Regions from separate parts of the Homo sapiens genome. Here all the other regions are linked to region 3. The links are contacts of gene promoters, found by promoter capture Hi-C in blood cells and fetal thymus (Javierre and others, 2016). All regions are on one chromosome and are shown on one strand. Each heading gives the region's core, a stretch centred on a gene start or on the middle of the fragment in contact. The rest is flanking DNA. Distances are from core to core; before and after follow the strand shown.

Region 1 (4,861 bases), core at 751-3,250, 2.6 Mb after region 3:
GGTCCTGGGACCCTAGATTAAGAGTCCTTGTGATGGGCTCAACAGAGAGGGAAGTAACAGGCAATTACATCATATATGTATTTATGAAAATGAAACATTTGAAAAATCTTTTTATATCTCTAGGCACTTCCTGACGTGTAGTAGGTATTTAATAACTATTTATTGACTAAGTGGTTAAAAGAGCCTATTTAAAAATTGGACCCCAGGAACTCCAGAATTGGATTAAACATAGTCCTTGGTTAATGACATTCTCTTATTGTTCTATGCGAGGCCCTTCCTTATTTATATTTTCTTATTAAAATTATTTTGAAAGCGTAATAAACAGTTCGAGGCTTCTAGTCAAAGATAATTATTTTGGCTGTACTTGGAAGAAATAAGCAAAAAGCTATATTTGAAAAAGACAGCAGGAGGATGATAAGATAAATGTATGAAGTAAAAAAAAGGAATTGAAGTCTAATGGCTTGCATTCTGAGATGTTTGAGGAGCACTGATGCAAGTAAACATGGAGACGGGAATAGGAGGAGATGGAGAGAATTATTTGGGAATACGAGGAGAGCAGTATCAAAAACTAGACAGGACAAGAAGACAGGATGTTAAGACTAAACTAGTATGATGATCATTTTTAGCAACGTTTTTAGCAAATTTTTGTTTTACTAACATGAAACAAAAATGGAAATACCTAAATACTCAAGAAAAGAGCATCGTTTTTAAAATAATGAAATATGTGGTTTTAAAAATAATACTGTAATTCCAGCAGTTTGGAAAGCTGAGGCGGGCTGACCACTTGAGCCCAGTAGTTCAAGACCAGCCTGGGCAACATGGGGAAACCCAGCTCTACACAAAATACAAAATTTAGCCGGCGGTAGTGTCGTGCCCGAAATCCTAGCACTTTGGGAGGCCAAGGGGGGAGGATCGCTTGAGCCTGGGAAGCGGAGGCTGCAGTGATCTGAGTTTGTGCCACTGCACTCCAGCCTGGGCGACAGAGCGAGACCCTGCCTCAAAAAAAAAAAAAAAAAAAGTGATAGCAATGAAGATTATGTTAATATGGGCAGAAGCTTACTGTATGAGTTAATTATGTATGAAGTGTGATTAAAACTATGTCAAATATATATGCATAATCATAAGAAGTAGACTGAAAGTGAATACACCAATATGGAAGCTAACAATATTAGAATGATGGAATTATGAGTGATACAGATGAATTATATGAATGAAGTCACATAATGTAGTACAGATTCAGAGTTGTAGATATGTCTTGCCTAAATTCTGCTAAAATTAACAACTAGGAAAAAAGTTGGCCAGGCGCGGTGGCCCACGCCTGTAATACCAGCACTTTGGGAGGCCGACGCGGGCGGGTCACGAGGTCAGGAGATCGAGACTATCCTGGCTAACACGGTGAAACCTCGTCTCTACTAAAAAAAAAAAAAAAAATTAGCCCTGCGTGGTGGCCGGCACCTGTAGTCCCAGCTACTCAGGAGCCTGAGGCAGGAGAATGGCGTGAACCCGGGAGGCGGAGCTTGCAGTGAGCCGAGATCGCGCCACTGCACTCCAGCCTGGGTGACAGAGCCAGACTCCATCTCAAAAAAAAAAAAGTAAATGCTGCCCTAAAATAATACATTTGTTTTTTTCAGCATCACGAATTTCATAGAATTTTTTTCTGTTAATACACAAGCATTAATAAATAGTATTATTAGTTTTGTGGAGTGATTTTTTTTGATCCCTTAAAATACATCAGGTATTTTCAAATGTTATTGTGGCCATTGTTTTGAAACAAATACAGAGAAAATTAGTTTCTGTGACAAATATTTAAAAGAATACTATAAGTTGTTTCAATTTTCCATTTATTTGCAGGTGTGGATTTGCTGGAGAAACTGGTCCAAGATGTATAATTCCTAGTGTGATAAAAAGAGCTGGGATGCCTAAGGTATTTAAAAAAAAATATTAGCAAAATAAATGCCATACTATAAAATGTTTTAAAATATGACTTCAAGTAAGATTGATTAAAACAGTACTAAAGGCCAGCCGTGGTGGCTCACGCCTGTAATCCCAACACTTTGGGTGGCTGAGGCGGGTGGATCACCTGAGATCAGGAGTTTGAGACCAGCCTGGACAACATGGTGAAACCCTGTCTCAACTAAAAATACAAAAATTAGCCGGGAGTGGTGGCAGGCACCTCTAATCCCAGCTCCTCAGGGGGCCGAGGCAGGAGAATTGCTTGAACCCGGGAGGCGGAGGTTGCAGTGAGCCAAAATCAAGCCATCGCACTCCAGCCTGGGGGGCAAGAGCAAGACTTCGTCTCAAAAAAAAAAAAAAAAAAAGAAACAAGAAACAGTACTAAATATATACTTTGTGGCTATATTTCCAAGGAAAAGTTTTTCTTTTTAAATCAACTTTATCAAGGTCTAATTTTGCACACCATAAGTATATCATGTTGTACAAGTACCACCACAATCCAGTTTTAGAATGTTTTCATCACCCCAGTAAAATCCCTAATACCCGTTTACAATTAATCCTCATTCCTATCCTCAGCCCATTAGGGTGTACCTTCTGTTTCTATAGATTTGTCTTTTCTGTACATTTTATGTAAATGGAATCATATATCAAGAGAAAAATTTTAACTTCAGTAAAATACTTTTATAAGTCTTATAACCACTGAATTATTTTATTATTTATAATATATCAGATATTTATTCCCTTATTTACAGTTTCAAAACCCAGAGAATTTTGAAAACAAACTTTCAAAAAGTTTCTTGCCACAGCTAATTTGGCAGATTAGAAATTACAACCAGTAGAAAGAATGATTTTGCATGTTATAAAATTCACTTGTTAAAAAATGAGATGTAGCTGTTACCACAGTAACATTATATATGCATTCCAGAAAATACCTTTGTTCTGCAAAATGGTACATTTTTAAAAAACAAAACAAAACAGGCTTATGGGAAAAATAAGCTTGAGGTAGTCCATATAAAACCTGTGTAACTTTGTAATCAGAGGACTAGCAAAAACAATAATTGATGCCTCCACAAAATTTAAATAGGATTGGCAGGCAGCTGAGTGTGGCTGGAGGCTGTCTTAGGGAATATTAAAAATAAAATTGTGGGCTGGGCAGATTACACGCCTGTAATCGCAGCACTTTGGGAGGCCGAGGCGGGCAGATCACGAGGTCAGGAGATCGAGACCATCCTGGCTAACACAGTGAAAACCCATCTCTACTAAAAAAAAAAAAAAAAATTAGCCAGGCATGGTGGCAGGCACTGGTATTCCCAGCTACTTGGGAGGCTGAGGCAGGAGAATGGCGTGAACTCGGGAGGCGAAGCTTGCAGTGAGCCGAGATTGCGCCACTGCACTCCAGCCTGGGCGACAGAGCGAGACTCCATCTCAAAAAAATAAAATAAAATAAAATCGTGGAGGTGGTGCGCACCTGTAGTCCCCAGCTACTTGGGAGGCCGAAGTGGGAGGATCACTTGAGCCCAGGAGGTTGAGGCTGCAGTGAGCCAAGATTGCACCACTGCATTCCACCATGGGCGACAGAGTGAGACCCTGTCTCAAAAATAAACAAATAAAAATAAAAGTCATGGATTGAAAATGTTAGCCAGTGGGTTCTGAGTCAGTGCAGATGGTAGCAAGCTCTGAGCCAGTGGGACTGTTATTAAGTAGCAACTAGGAGGAAATGCAACCCAACAGAGTCATGGATCCACTCTGAGGCACGAATTGCTGGTGTAGGGAGTTATTTACACTTTTCTTATGAATAGATCTGAAAGCATATCTACCTGTGTGATAACTGAGTTGATGACTTTCTTTTTCTTGATGAAAGTTATACTTCCATTATAATTATAGCTTGTCTTGCCTAATATTAACTAATACAACTATAACATTTTTCTGACATTATTTCCTTTTTTAGCAATCGCATATAAGCATATTTGGTTTTATAAAAACACATGTTGGCCAGATGCGGTGGCTCACTCCCAGCACTTTGGGAGGCTGAGGCAGGTGGATCACCTGAGGTCAGGAGTTCCAGACCAGCCTAACCAACAAGGAGAAACCCTATCTCTACTAAATATACAAAATTAGCCGGGCATGGTGGCACATGCCTGTTAATCCCAGCTACTCAGGAGGCTGAGGCAGGAGAATCACTTGAACCCGGGAGGTGGAGGTTGTGGTGAGCTGAGATTGTGCCATTGCACTCCAGTCTGGGCAACAAGAGCGAAACTCCATCTCAAAAAAAACAAAAACAAAAACAAAAAAAAACATGTTATAGCAGAATAGACGAGACCAGCAGTTTATATTTGGCATTTACATACATCAGAAATCTTTTTTTTTTTTTTTTTTGAGGCGGAGTCTTGCTCTGTCGCCCAGGCTGGAGTGCAGTAGCATGATCTGGGCTCACTACAAGCCCCACCTCCCGGGTTCATGCCATTCTCCTGCCTCAGCCTCCCGAGTAGCTGGGACTACAGTTGCCCGCCGCCACGCCCAGCTAATTTTTTGTATTTTTTAGTAGAGACGGGGTTTCACCGTGTTAGCCAGAATGGTCTGTATCTCCTGACCTCGTGATCCGCCCGCCTTGGCTTCCCAAAGTGCTGGGGTTACAGGTGTGAGCCACTGCGCTCGGCCCAGAAATCTTTTTAATTACACTTGATTAAGGAATCATTTCATTGATTTTAAATTTTTCTGCAAATCCTTGGACAAGCCAGAAATATGGTAGATATTGGTGGTTTGATGTTCAAAAATGTGATGGAAGCCGGGTGTGGTCTCTCATGCCTGTAATCCCAGCACTTTGGGAGGCTGAGGTGGCCAGATCACTTGAGGCCAGGAGTTTGAGACTAGCCTGGCCAACTTGGTGAAACCCCATCTCTACTAAAAA
Region 2 (4,466 bases), core at 359-2,858, 2.7 Mb after region 3:
GCAACCATTGTAATAATCAATTCAAATAAGAATCATCAGATATTAGAATTAATGAGTGAAATGTTGAGGCGTAAACAGGATGTGTACATATTCTCAAAGTATTTCCTCACAAGATACTAATTACAAAGGGAAAAATGAAACATTATCAGGGATAAATCTTCAGCAAGTGATCAAAGTTAACATTACCAGCAATAAAACAACTAACATCATGTCCCTTCTAATGTAATGCTCTGACATGAATGAATACAAGGTCATTTCTGTAGTATTCCTGCCATAAATGCATCACTTGAATCAAATAACAAAAAAATCAAACCTAAATTAAGGAATATTCTACAAAATAAATGGTTTGTATTCTTCAAAAGTGTTCATGCCATGAAAACTGAAGAAATACTAAGCAACTATTTTCCAGACTAAAGCAGATTGGAAACATGACAACTGAATGCAAGGTGTGATCTTGGATTTTCTTTTGCTATGAAGGACATTATTGGGCCATTTACCAAAAAAAAAAAAAAAATGCATAAAGTTGATAGATCATAGTATTGGTAATTTTCTGATTTTCACAATAATACTGTGTCTCTGTGAAATAATGTTCCTGTGTTGGGGGAAAATACACACTGACGTATTAATATTTAGGAGTAAAAAAAATGCTGATGCCCTATTTACAATCGGATTAAAATTCAAACCACTTCAAGATTTGGTCTCCTGTGCACTTGTTCTCTTCCTGTCATTCTTCCCCACTTAATCATTATGAGAGGTCACTCTGACGTGACAGTTCCCAGCGCAAGCCAAGTTTTTTACTGTTCCCTAAACCACTGTCTTTTGTTACCCTATTTTAGTTTAAATATCACTCACTCAGAAAGTCATTCCCTGAGCACACTGCCTAAAGTTAGTACCTCCATTGTCTATTAAAGCACTCTTTCTTCTTACTATTTTGCTTATTTATTGTTACCTATTTATTCCCACTGAATGGAAATTACATTAGAAATGGGGGTATGCTCTGTTCACGGCTTTTTCTTGAACACGTGGAATATACTAGCGCTCAAAAAATATCTTTAATCAGACTTATCTTTAACTCTTACCAAAAAGCGTTATACTCATAGAAAGAGCACTAATACTTCCGTAAAATTCTAAGCTGAATTCAAAGACGATACCCTTTAAGTGAAACTTCACGAGAGCCTGAGCACAAGGAGGTGAAGTGGATGCCATCAAGATTCTGGGTCAGGGTCGGGACGCGGAGGAAGACAGGTTACTTCGCGCCTACTGCTTTTTCTACTTTTTGTGAGAGTATACCAGCATCTCTCCCTTTGGCTTAAAGAAAGAATAAAGTGAGGAGAGAATAATAATATAAAAGATAAATAATAATTCCAAGGAAAGGAATAGAGCAGCTTCTCAGATACCACGACGCCAAGCGGCTCAAAGTACGCGAACCGAAGGAGGAGCCTTTGCTTTCCCCAACCCCGCCTCCATTGCTTCTGCACATGCGCGCCGCCAGCCTCTCGCGGCCCGCTTTTTTCCCACAATACTCCTCGTCCTGGGGGCCGGAGCCGCGGAACGAGCCACAGAGAAAAAGGTTATTGGTTGGCAGTTCAGCCAATGAGCGGGCCTGTTACTAGTTTGCGGCATCCTGTGGTATAGGGGAAGCGCTCCGGGCCTGGAATCCCTACGCGTCCCTTTGGGTTTAGCACGATGAGCTCAATCGGCACTGGGGTGAGTTCGCTGTCTGTCGGTGTAATAGTTTAACCTAAGGATTGGGGTTGAAGGGAACTCGGACAGACCACATGGGGTTCGCGGACCCGGGGTGCTCTGAGACCGCCTTCGGCTGGGTGGGCCATTTGCAGCTGTTTGGAGACCGGTCGTCTTTATCCCCTATATGCTAGGCCTGCGTCTCAGGTGACCGTGACTCCTGAAGCTTTTCAGCGCAGGTGTAGCCGGCTTGGCGTCGCCGCAGTGAGGTTTGGAGCCGCTTTGGATTGCTGAGTCACTTTCTTCAGCCACTTAGGGAAACCGAAAGTGGAAACTCGTGGGGCTTGAAATAGTGTGTTCTCTTGAGAACCACCGAGGCAGTGAGATTTGGGATTCCGGGGTCTGGAGATCGTGCTTTTTGTGGACTGCGTTTGCAGTTCCTAGGGTGCTGCTGATTCACAGGCCTTCTCTGTCTTTAAGTGTGCAGATCATTGACCGCTCAGTTTAAGAGTCACTGGAAATCCTGTCGGAACAGAACTAATAAAAATGGTCTGAAAAACAATCTGATGAATCCTTCAGTTTTTCCTTTCTCGTTTTTCCTATACAAATTACCTAACAGCGCTTGTAGGCATTTATTCCGTAAACGTTTAAATGGTTACTTAGGAACTTAACAGCTTCAGACTTTTCATAGACTGTTGAGGATTTTGCAGTGGGACTTGTTAACTTGTTTGGCTTTCCTTTGTTAAACGTATTGCATATGTGCAGTCAGTTTACTCCTTTTATGTACTTCTCTATATAGAAAATACAGTTTCTAAAAGATTTATTGGTTATTTGCACTAGAGTTATTGAATAATGAGTTTCTCAGTTCCTCAATTTCTACTTCTTAACAAGATTCTCATGCTCAGCCTTAAGTTCAAGTACCGGTGTTCTAAATTTGATAATAGGCAACTTATGTCTGGAATGGTTTAATCCATTCAGTTATGAATGCTAAAGTTCTGCCATACTTTTCTTGGATAAGTAAATGCTCAATATTAAATCTTGTAGCAAACTGACTTTGCAATTATATTAATATTACCTTGAATTAATAGTATTTCATTCTACAAACCTTTTAAAGAATACTTGATAATGTAACCATGTGGGATATTTTAGTAACAATGGTAGGGTTAATGATCTGGGTTTAACAGATCAGGAAACAGACTCAGAAAGTACCACTGCTGAAGGCTTTTCTTCTGTCTTCATTTCTCCCAAGAACTCCAGATACGAATATTTGTTTGTCTGCTTGACATGTCTGTTCACTTGATCGTTTAATAGTCATTTCGTACTGCATGTGAAAGTAGAGCTCTGGGTTTTCTCCTCACCTTGCCATTTTGCATCTACTACAGTCTTCAGCTCAGTGAATGGTCATATGAAAAAATCTGTTATTCATCTTTAATTCCTTTTTTTACTTTACTCCCAGAACCAACGCTTTAGCAAGTTTATTTTTTTATTTTTATTTTGTTTGAGACGGAGTCTTGCTCTGTTGCCAGGCTGGAGTGCAGTGGCACGATCTTGGCTCACTGCAACCTGTGCCTCCCAGGTTCAAGCAATTCTCCTGTCTCAGCCTCCCGAAGAGCTGGGACTACAGGTGCGCACCACCACGCCCAGCTAATTTTTGTATTTTTCGTAGAGATGAGGTTTCACCATGTTGGCCAGGATGGTCTCCATCTCTTGACCTTGTGATCAGCCCGCCTCACCCTCCCAAAGTGCTGGGATTACAGGCATGAGCCATCACGCCTGGCCTAGCAAGTTTATTTTTATTATTTTTATATTTTACTCTACTCTCAAAAAATATTCCCTTCTACCTCTTCTCTCGTCTAAGCTACTACCGCTATCTTTGGAACACCTTATCTTTGCTTCTGTTGTTCTCTCTACAGCTTATTTTCCGCATAAAGCCAGAATGATGTTTTTAAAAATATAGATGATACCACTCCCCCTGCTTAAATTTCTCATTGCATTTAGAATAAAATACAGAGTCCTTTTTCCATCCTGGAAGACACAACATAATCTGGCCCTCAGCTACCTCACTAACACAGTTTACTCTTCTTTCTGCTGCTTACAGTGCTTGGGACACAGTGACCTTATTTCTGTTTCTTGACTGTGCTAGCCTTATTTCTACCCTAAGATCTTTGTGCCAAATGTCAAGAAGACTTTTCCTTCATATCTTAAATGGCTAGCTCCTTGTCATTTAGGTTTGACTCAGCCTAAATATAACTGCCCAGAAGGCCTTCCCTGATGATGTAGTCTGTAGTAGTTCATTGCTTTACTCTTTTATTTTCATCTTAGTGCCTTTTCTGATTTACTGCTGTACCTCTAGCACCTAGATTCATGTCTGATGTGAAACTGAAGGACTTAATGAATGAGTATACCTTTGTATTCCGTATAGTAACATAATAGATACTCATTAACTGCTTGGTGAATGCCGAATGATTTGTTTGAAGTCTTTTAGTTTGTTAATGGCAGAGTTATCGTTACAAATTTAAATGTTCGAACTCCAGTGCTGGTTCTACTGCCCCATATTAATCTTTTTCAAAAATGAGTTTTGTAGTCTGGGTGAAAAGTGTTCTGACTTCACCTGGGACCTGTATCCATTACTCTTCAATAGCTGAAATCGAAGGTATATAGCTTTATCTTAGCTACTGTTGCTGCTCTGACAAGTTTCCCTTTCCTCTCTTGAAAGCAAGGTCTTTGTTGGGATATAACAGGTTCCTGATGTTTCAGCCATTTAGAGGGGAAGAAACTGTATG
Region 3 (4,417 bases), core at 1,455-3,954:
GTCAAGAGATATAATCTGTTACTCACGCATTACTCAAATCTCTACACAAGTCACCACTTATGGGAAAACTACCCTAGTCAAAACAGGAATAGCCAGCTTGTTCTCCATCTGCAGGGCAGGCATGTATTATTTGTCTTTAAAACTTTCCCCAAACTCAGAAAAAAGAGTTGTTACACGCAAAAAATTCAGAAGACAGTCTTCAGTAAATTGCAATTTTGTTAAATTAAAAAAAAATAGGATGTGTGCTCTTTAGGTAACAGTGTTTAGACTTTATAGTTTTCAATAAAATTTAATTTCTTAGTTGTTGCAACTAGAGGTACCTCAGATGCTGGGTGTGTTGCTAATCCTTTTTAACAAGTTAGTTGTTGGTTTCAGTGACACTGGAGGGTAGTAAATAGCAGCCAAAGTTAATTATATCGTAGGTTAATTATATGTGTTAACTATAGCTAATTATATTATACTACACTTTAAAACCTAGAGGGTTGGTGTTAATTCATAATAGGGCTTGCCTATTATGCATAACACTAGAGAAGCATAGCATTTCTAGTGAATCTTTTTTTTTTTTAAGACAGAGTCTTGCTCTGTTGCCCAGGCTGGAGTGCAGTGGCACCATCTTGGCTCACTGCAACCTCTGCCTCCTGGGTTCAAGCGATCCTCCTGCTCAGCCTCCCCAGTAGCTGGGATTATAGGCACCTGCCACCATGCCCAGCTAAGTTTTGTATTTTTAGTAGAGCTGGGGTTTCACCATGTTGGCCATGGTGGTCTCGAACTCCCGACCTCAGGTGATCCACCCAGCTCGGCCTCCCAAAGTGCTGGGATTACAGGTGTCAGCCACTGCGCCCGGCCTCTAGTAAATCTTTTTGTTTTGATGTGAATAAATAGAAAGCTTATAAAAAATAAAGCATTCAACCACTTCCCTTTCTATAGTCAAAGTTCAAACGCCAGAAAAGCCGAAATAGGTGATACAAAGTCATCCTTTAGTATAAGCAGTAGTATGTTTTGAGAAAATCCTAAACTCCACTCATTGTCTTACTTACAAGTGCACCGAAATATTATTGCCTGTAAATGACATTGCGGTTTTACTGGTCAGGAAAATGAATGATATAAATTTTTAATTCTAACCTAAAACCTGCGTTAGTACTAACCTGAGGAAATAACATGGTTGTTTGTAAGCTAATCAAGAGCCCTTAAACTCCATTACATAAATGATACACTTACCCTTTGTATTAAGGGACTAACGGCTTCGCTTTTCAACAAAGCTGGATCTTCTGGCACACGCTCAGAAGATAGCCAGTACTTCAGAGACAGATTGCTTTGAGGGCACTGGAACCGCTGAGGGGCAGAGTAATCCTAATGAGAAAGAAAAAAGAGGACGCCTCTGGAGTTAAAATAAGACAATGCATCTGTGGAGAACACGGTGACTGAAGACTGGCAGAATTCTCAATATCTCAGGCCACTATACACTGCGCAGTTTTCATTTGTATTTTGGAGGTGCTCTAGAAAACTTAGAAATGATTAGAATAAAAAGTATGGATACTTTTAACCAGCCCATGTACAGGAAATTCTGTTGGTGTAGAAACGGTTCTGCTGTTCATTCCTTAACTGCTTCTGTTCCCACTTTGTCAGATGTAGGGCGAGGTGGTGGTGGTGAGTCCTAATTTTTTCTATCTCTATCCACAGTCTGGAATCGTTAGGATTATTTTAAGCCTTCATAACATTTGCGGACAGCTTGGAGTGTTTTGTACATGTAGTGGGGCAGTGCCTGGCCTCCTGTGAGAGATTGATCATCGGTAAACAATCCACACGAAACTCACTTGCCAGTGGACGGGGAGGATCGCTGCCATCCTTTCAGCAAAGAGCAAACGAATAAGGAGAGATCCGGGCCCATCCCTCCTCGCGCAGCAGTTTCTAGATTTTTACCCCGGCTTCATAAATGGCTACCAGCTGGCAGTCACAACACTTTCATAATGTTTGCACACAACTCATTTGGGTCGCTTTCTTTTCTTTCCTTTTTTTTTTTTTTTTTTTGAGAGAAACGGAGAGTCTTACTCTCTCGCCCAGGCTGGAGTGCAGTGGCGAGATCTCGGCTCACTGCAACCTCCGCCTCCTAGATTCCTGCGATTCTCCTGTCTCAGCTTCCCAAGTAGCTGGGGCTACAGGCGTGCGCCACTATGCCCAGCTAATTTTTTGTACTTTTTTTGGCAGAGACGGGTTTTACTATATGTTGGCCAGGCTGGTCTCGAACTCCTGACCTCAGGTGATCCGCCTGCCTTGGCCTCCCAAAGTACTGGGGTTACAGGCGTGAACCACCGCGCCCGACCATTATTTGGGTCGCTTTCTAATTTCTTTCTCCGTTTGTAGCTAGCGTTGCCCGAAGGAGATTTCAGAGAGATCCCCTGGAGAAAGGGACGGGGGATGTCGTTTTCCAGTAATTTCTGGGGGAAATCTGGGATAGTCAGGGGGTAAATCTAGTGCCGTTTGCTGAAGTTAAAAGGCGTGGGGAGCCAGGTGGTGCCCTGGAGGGAGGGCCGCGCGAGACGAGACCAACCTTCGGGACAGGGGAGAGCGGGGCTACTGAACGCAGGGGATTCCGCTGAGCCTCCAGCCCCTGAGCGTCCACCTTCGGCCCAGCTGGGGGACGCGGTCTCGGGAAGAAAGCCCGGAATCCCGAGCCGGCCAGCCGCGAGCAGCGAGTACCGGAGCGCGTGGGCAGGCGCGCGGAGGCAGAGGCGGGCCGGCGGCTGTCCCTTTAAGGGGCCGGTCTCCCGGCGCCGCCGGCCCAGACGCCAGGACGTGCCGGGTCCGCCCCGCCCCGCCCCGAAGCCGCCCGTTTCCTGCCGAGCGGCGCGACGGCACCTGAGCGACTGCGGCGGCGGCGGCGGCGGCGGCGGCGCCTCGGAGCGGGCGGCCCGGGCTGTAGTGCCGGCGCCGCCGCGTCTTCCCGGTCTCCTTTCCCGGCCGCACAGGGTGAGGGAGAGCAGGCCGCACCGGGACGGGCGCCGGCGGCGGGGAGCGCGGGGGGAGGCGGCGCCGGCCGCGGGGTCCTGGGGCAGGCGGGAGGGCCGCGCCGGGCGGGGGGGCGCGGCCGCGGGGCCCGGACGCCGCCCGCTGGGTAGGCCTCGGGCATCCGGTTGCCGCCGCGGGGCTCTTGTTGGGGCCGGGACGCCGCAGGGGGCGGGCTCGGAGGGACCTCCTCGGCCTCGCGGGGCCGCTCTGGGCCCGACCCCGGCTCTGTCGCGGCACCCGGGGCGCGGCCGAGGGACACCCCCCACCCTCCCCAAGGACGACTCTCCCGAAGGCGAGGTCGACCCGAGCGGGCCCTGGGGTGACCGAGGCACCTATTTTTAGCCAAGCCTGAGGGCCCCCGGGAGGGAAGGCGGATTACCGCCTCCTCGGCCGGTGGACGGAGGCAGCGCGTCTCCGGCGGCGTCCCCGGGCCGGAGCTGGGCCACACTTACGCCATGCTGGAGTTCCAGTCCTCGCCGCTGCCTCCGGCGGTCTGGGCGCTCGCCCCCTTCCCCGGCGCCCCTCCCGCTGCCCTTTGCGAGTCCCCAGGTCAGGGCGGGAGGCGGTTGGGCACGGAAAGCAGCATGAGGGGGGACTTTGGAAAAATCCATGGACCACTCTCGACACCGGCGAAGTTATCCCTTCCTGTCCCCGAGGGGTGTGTCCTAGCGATTCGGCCTGACCCCTTCAGTTTCCAAAAGTGAGATTTTTGGCCTTGGGGACCTCGCCGGAAAACTACGCGGGAAGTCTAGAGAAGTCGTCTGGCTCTCAGCCATACGTCTGGTGTGGGATGTGCAGCCCCGCATGCTGGCGGTGAAGGCGCTGGGTGCACTAGATGTGGGCAGCCCCGGACGCGGGCAGCGGCGTCCCAGCCGGCCCCAGTTGCACCTTGACTAGGTTAGGTTGAAAGTAAGCTGTTCAGTGTTGGCCCTTCTTTCCTGTGGGAGGAAGGAGGAATCTAAATTCAGAACTGTGTTGGCAAACGGATTCCTTAGCCGCTATTTAAGTTAGTAGTGCTTAAAGAGCTACGGTTGAAGTTAACTGTTAAGGTGTGTGTGTGTGTGTGAGTGTGTGTGTGTGATGACTTTGTGGAAAGCCTTGAGTAAAGAGCTACGGTTGAAGTTAACTGTTAAGGTGTGTGTGTGTGTGATGACTTTGTGGAAAGCCTTGAGAAATGTAGACACTCATGGCCAGCCCAGCTAAAGATAAGCATCTTCGGTGAACTAAAGGTTCTGAATTGTATAGGAGTTGACTTAAAGTTAGAATTTTTGCTAAATTAGGTTGCATTTGTTTTCCTTAGCTTACCTAGCAGGCTAATGGCAACAGTGTCTCCAGTTTGGTCCGAAGCAATTGCTGGTGAGACTTGGGATAATGATCCCAAGCTGGTGAGACTTGGGATAATGATCCCAAG
Region 4 (4,484 bases), core at 1,411-3,910, 2.7 Mb after region 3:
CCATTAAAATGATGTATAACATAACCACATTTATTTAACAACGTAGTCCAACATCAAATGGCAAATTCCAATAATGCAAAAACCACGATTACTTTTGCAACGACCTTCTTAGACACAATATTTTGCAAAACATGTACAAGGATATTCACTGACATATTACTGCCATTATAGAAAAATAAACACGTTACATAAATTATGATATATTTATCCCACAAAACACTATGAAGACATAAAAGATGCTTTACGATAAGATATTTCCAATATTCCCAATGTTTTCTATAAAGAATAGACGGTAATGAACAACACTAGAATATTTGGTAAAACAAAACCAACAAAAAAGACAAAGCCTTTTGTATAATATATAACTATAGTGTAAACCGTAACTACCTTTTGGAGGAGGGAAGACATTTTTGTATTCTTCTTTGGGCTTTTTAATAATTTCCAAATGTCCATGCATTATTTGGATTCAATAATAACAGTTTAAACTTTGATCGTAGAATTATGGATGCTTACCCCCTAGAAAATTCAGTAATATATTGTTTTATAAGGTCTTTTAAAAAACTGCTTCACTCCTACGAGATTGCGCCACTGCACTCCAGCCTCGATGACAGAGAGAGACTCTGTCTCCAAAAAAAAAAAAAAAAAAAAAAAAAAAGCCTCACTCCTAAACACTCCCATTTACAAGATCTTTTCTATATAAGAACTTTTTAAATAGGCGGGTGGGGGGGAGGAAATCACAAAAATACGCATAATGTTTTATAACAAAAACATGAGGTATATCAAAGTCCAGAAATGAGAACCACGTAAATGGGTAAACAAGTCCATAAGGATGTCCTAATTTTGGGATTTCATTCTAAAATATTACACTAGAAAGCTAATTATACAGACTCATTTGAATCTGACCAAACAAAACATCTTTTAACTACCCTTCCTCCCATTCTGGTATTTCTTTACTAATCCATAGAAAGTTTTTCCAGGTAGTCCCCCGCAATTCTAAGGATTTTTAGACTTTATGACTCACCTCAGTAATCACTGAGATGTTCTGTTTTCTTCAGCACAACTGCCAAAAAACCCAGTAATTGTTAAGTCACACAATCATTTTCTAGTTATGGGCGCCACCAATATAGCAGTAGGGTTTAAAACAGAGGTATTGAGGGTAACTATTAGGATCTATCCAGTGTGACTAGGTCACTCACTAGAAATGCCAACATGCATTTCACGTTTTTATGAATACTTTTGAGCAAAATTACTGTTACGAATAAAAAACTGATTCTGCTCGGCTGTTTTCTTACTGAGAAAATTTAGTCCACGTGGATTACTGACGATATGTCACATTTTAAAAATTACTCCATTCTATAAAACTAGTCAATTTTATACTCCAATTCCGCTATTTAAAAATGTGTGTTTCGTTTAACAGAATATAAGATGTTAACAGAAAAAGATCAACGTCTATCTTATCGGGGACGTCCTTTTGTCTAAGATGTTTTCAGTCCCTGCAAAACCACTGTTTGCTTTCAAAAAGTAGCATAAGCCTCGTGCAGAGTGACAGACCCTTGTCTAAGGTCACAGAAGAAGCGTCTGCGCTGGCAAGTAAATTCCTCAGCATCCAGAAAGCCAGCGCTTTCTCCAGTTTCCTCATAGCTTTATCCCGTGAGGAGCACGCGGAAACCTCTACCCATGCAGGATGTTTCTAAGAACCACTTCTTCCCTGTCTTAACTAAGAAGGCTCCCACAGCTGGTGCCAATCAGGTGGAGAACATGGCAAGTCCCCGAAATGCACTTCCAAAGACAGGAAAGATTGCAGTGGGACAGAACCCAGAAAATCTCTCACATTCTCGAAAACCCGAAAGAGAACCTCCAAGAAAGACGTTTGCCTCTCCTCCACCTCTTTATCTCGGCGGGAGAGGAAGCCTCGCCCCCATTCATCCCGCCCCTTCTCCCCACCCCGCCGCAGGGAGAAGTTTACCATGGCTGCCTGCGGCCCCTTCACTTCCGGTGCCGGTGCCGCTAGGGCTGCGCCATCCCCCCAGTCAATCGGACAACCATAGCCTCCAACTGACCTTTCTGACAGCTCTGAGACTCCTCCGGCCACGACTAGGTGCTGTCCTGGAGGAAACGGTGGAGGACGGCCGCACAAAAACCAATCTACCTGATGAAAACTCCGTTCCCTTCTCGCCAGAAACATAAAATGCGATGGAGCTACGGCCACCGCTGCCGAGACAAAATGGCGCCGACAAGCTGGTTTAGCGCAAGCGCCTTGGACAGACCCTGCCCCGCCCCCGTGCAAGCCCCTGGCTGCAATTCTGGGTTCCGTTTCCATGGGACACTCCGCCGCCAATCCTCGTGTCGAACTGCTCTTCCTGACCCCTCAATTCACCAATCAGTGCCCAGTCAAGCACATCCGGAGTCGTCTCTACCAATCATTTCTCAGGACTTGCTTACTCAATAACCAACTCTCCAATAAAGTTGGTTTTCGGAAAAAGCCAATCATAAGTGGAAGATGTCCTACCTGCTGTTTTTCTCACCAATCCATGAAGTTTCACAGCTACATCCAATGAGGACGGCAGGTAGCGAGGTCCTATCCGAAGCTCTTCGGCGTCATGAGCAGCCAATAGGAGTTCGTGTAGAAGCGAGTCTGCTCAACAGCTTGTTATTTGGTGGATTGTGGCAGTAAATCGGGGCGAGTGGGGAACCCGGCGCAGGAACTGCAGCCGCGGCTGGGAGTGGTGCTGCCCGGACGGGGGCCCACGGAGGTCAGAGGGGAGGAGGACTCTGGAGCTGACAGCGCGCACTTCACCCGCAGTTGGTAGGTGGGGAGAGGGGAATCCGGGGATACTGAATGGACGAAGTGGCAGTAGCAGCAGCTGCTGCTGCCCGAGGTCCCGGTGCAGTTGGAAGCTTTGGAGGTGGGGAGAGGGATGCTAGGCAAGTGGCACGGCGAGCGCAAGGGAAGGGGCCAGCCATTGACCAGCGGCAGCAACTGCAGGAACCGCCGCCGCAGTTGCAGCCGCCTCCTCGTCCGCTTCCTCGGGTTCCCGGGAAAATGGCTGTGGGGCTGGCCGCGCCGCTAAGTTTGCTTCCGCGCGGTGAAGAGCGGGCTGCTTGGGGGAGCCGTCCCCCAACTCCGCGGCGCGTCCACCTCTGCGGAGTCCGTGGCAGGACTCGAGGGGCTACGAGCTGATACCTCTCTGGGCTGTACAAAAAGTTGAGGCGGGCGCTGGGAGGAGGCAGCGGCTGCTGCGGTGCGGCTCCCCTCCCCTCCCACACCCTGTCCGGGCCACCTCCCCTCCTCCTCCCCTCCGCCCCCCGCCCCCTCCCCCACGCGGGTCCCCCGGGGCTCTGGCGGCTCCCGGCTGAAGGCCGCGGCCCCTGCCCCTTTGGGTGAAGGAGCGCTTCTCCTTTCTGACATGGTGCAGAGCGAAGGAAGGAGAGCAATGGCGCCGTGACACTCCGCTGCCGCCACCGCGGGCCCGGGGCGGGCCGAGGGGGCCGAGCGGCGGAGGCGGGGCGCGGGCCGAAGTCGGGGTATCCGGGGGACCGCGGAGCGGAGGCTCGGCGGTCGTCTCCGCGGGGGACCTGGGGAAGCCCGAAGGGAGCTCTGGCCTTTTCCGGAGCTATCTGTCCTGGAGCTCCGAGTTGAGCATTCCGGGTCAAAGTGGCCAGCGAGGCGGGGGCGCGGTGGGCCGCTGGCGAGCTCCGGGGCGGAACGGGCTGCCCTTTGGCGCTCGTGGGGTTCTCGCTGCCCCCTCAGCTCCTGCGTCCTGGCTGCCCTCGTAAGGGGTCTTGTCCCTTGGCTGGTGAGGATTCTGCCCCTCCCCGCTGGCGTTTGTTTACTTTCTTTCCCTTGGTCGCTCCCCGCAGTTGACTGATTATGTCTGTGCCTGTCTTTCCCCCTCCCCATAGTTCTAGCGACTGCGAAGATAGCTCGCTGAGCTGGAACCCCACAGATCACCAACAAAAATGAAGGTAAGTGGAGTCAACTCTGCCCCGATCCTCGCGCCCTGAACACTGCCAATCCTAAGGCTAGTGCCGTGGAATGTCATTTGTTTTGCTACTCAAAATTGATGTTCCTACTGATCAGCAGTTTCGGCATAGGAGGATGTGTTGAATGGGTGAAAAATGATCTGTGTGTCTAAATGCGGAGTTTAGGCCCTCTCTGTAGCAGTACTTTGGAAAGGCTGGTGCAGCCTTTCAATTGTTGTCCATTCGGATAGTATTTTTAAACACTTCCTGTGTTGGCAGCAACCTTTGCAGAAGTAAAGCTTTTGTCCTGCTTTGGTTCTTTGGGGGATTTTTTGTAAATTTTTTTTCTTCCCGTGTGCCAATGCGATTTTCTAAAAGAAAGAATACGTGGATTAAGTAATGAAGGTATCATTTCTTCTGTGTGTAAAATGAACTTATGTGGCTAAAATATTTGAAGTTGAAGTATAATAATAGTTTTAGTTAAATCTTTCCAATAAGTATTTTAAAACATATACTAAAAA

The links. The method cuts DNA at HindIII sites, captures the fragments that hold promoters and counts their contacts. A CHiCAGO score of 5 or more calls a contact.
Region 1: a contact is called between a fragment that was not itself captured here and the fragment with the promoter of KTN1-AS1 in region 3, in 1 of 17 cell types (naive B cells). The highest score is 5.9, in naive B cells.
Region 2: the fragment with the promoter of PSMA3 here is called in contact with the fragment with the promoter of KTN1-AS1 in region 3 in 1 of 17 cell types (total B cells); the score reaches 5.6 in total B cells.
Region 4: the fragment with the promoter of ARID4A here is called in contact with the fragment with the promoter of KTN1-AS1 in region 3 in 3 of 17 cell types (fetal thymus, non-activated CD4 T cells and total CD8 T cells); the score reaches 9.7 in fetal thymus.

What each region holds. Positions count from the first base shown.
Region 1 is chr14:58,201,004-58,205,864 of GRCh38, forward strand. It overlaps ACTR10 (actin related protein 10), which reads left to right. Exons shown (of 13, transcript NM_018477.3): 2 at 1,852-1,924. Among named protein-coding and RNA genes, the nearest start is that of ACTR10, 3.3 kb to the left of the region's middle. The HindIII fragment of the contact is 1,894 bases long and covers 1,054-2,947 here.
Region 2 is chr14:58,243,235-58,247,700 of GRCh38, forward strand. PSMA3 (proteasome 20S subunit alpha 3) reads left to right here and starts at 1,609. Exons shown (of 11, transcript NM_002788.4): 1 at 1,609-1,707. The coding sequence starts at 1,687. RefSeq lists enhancers at 1,163-1,212, 1,253-1,452, 1,621-2,518, 1,633-2,082. The HindIII fragment of the contact is 17,362 bases long and covers 1-1,907 here.
Region 3 is chr14:55,577,388-55,581,804 of GRCh38, forward strand. KTN1-AS1 (KTN1 antisense RNA 1) reads right to left here and starts at 2,705. Exons shown (of 3, transcript NR_027123.1): 1 at 2,549-2,705; 2 at 1,219-1,350. KTN1 (kinectin 1) reads left to right here and starts at 2,820. Exons shown (of 44, transcript NM_001079521.2): 1 at 2,820-2,967. RefSeq lists enhancers at 2,045-2,164, 2,175-2,264 and silencers at 2,705-2,964, 3,025-3,664, 3,844-4,138. The HindIII fragment of the contact is 5,026 bases long and covers 885-4,417 here.
Region 4 is chr14:58,295,895-58,300,378 of GRCh38, forward strand. ARID4A (AT-rich interaction domain 4A) reads left to right here and starts at 2,661. Exons shown (of 24, transcript NM_002892.4): 1 at 2,661-2,806; 2 at 3,904-3,966. The coding sequence starts at 3,961. It overlaps PSMA3-AS1 (PSMA3 antisense RNA 1), which reads right to left and starts at 2,243. Exons shown (of 4, transcript NR_029435.1): 1 at 2,061-2,243. RefSeq lists enhancers at 1,891-2,614, 1,911-2,330, 2,351-2,400, 2,511-2,600 and a silencer at 3,231-3,750. The HindIII fragment of the contact is 5,118 bases long and covers 1-2,896 here.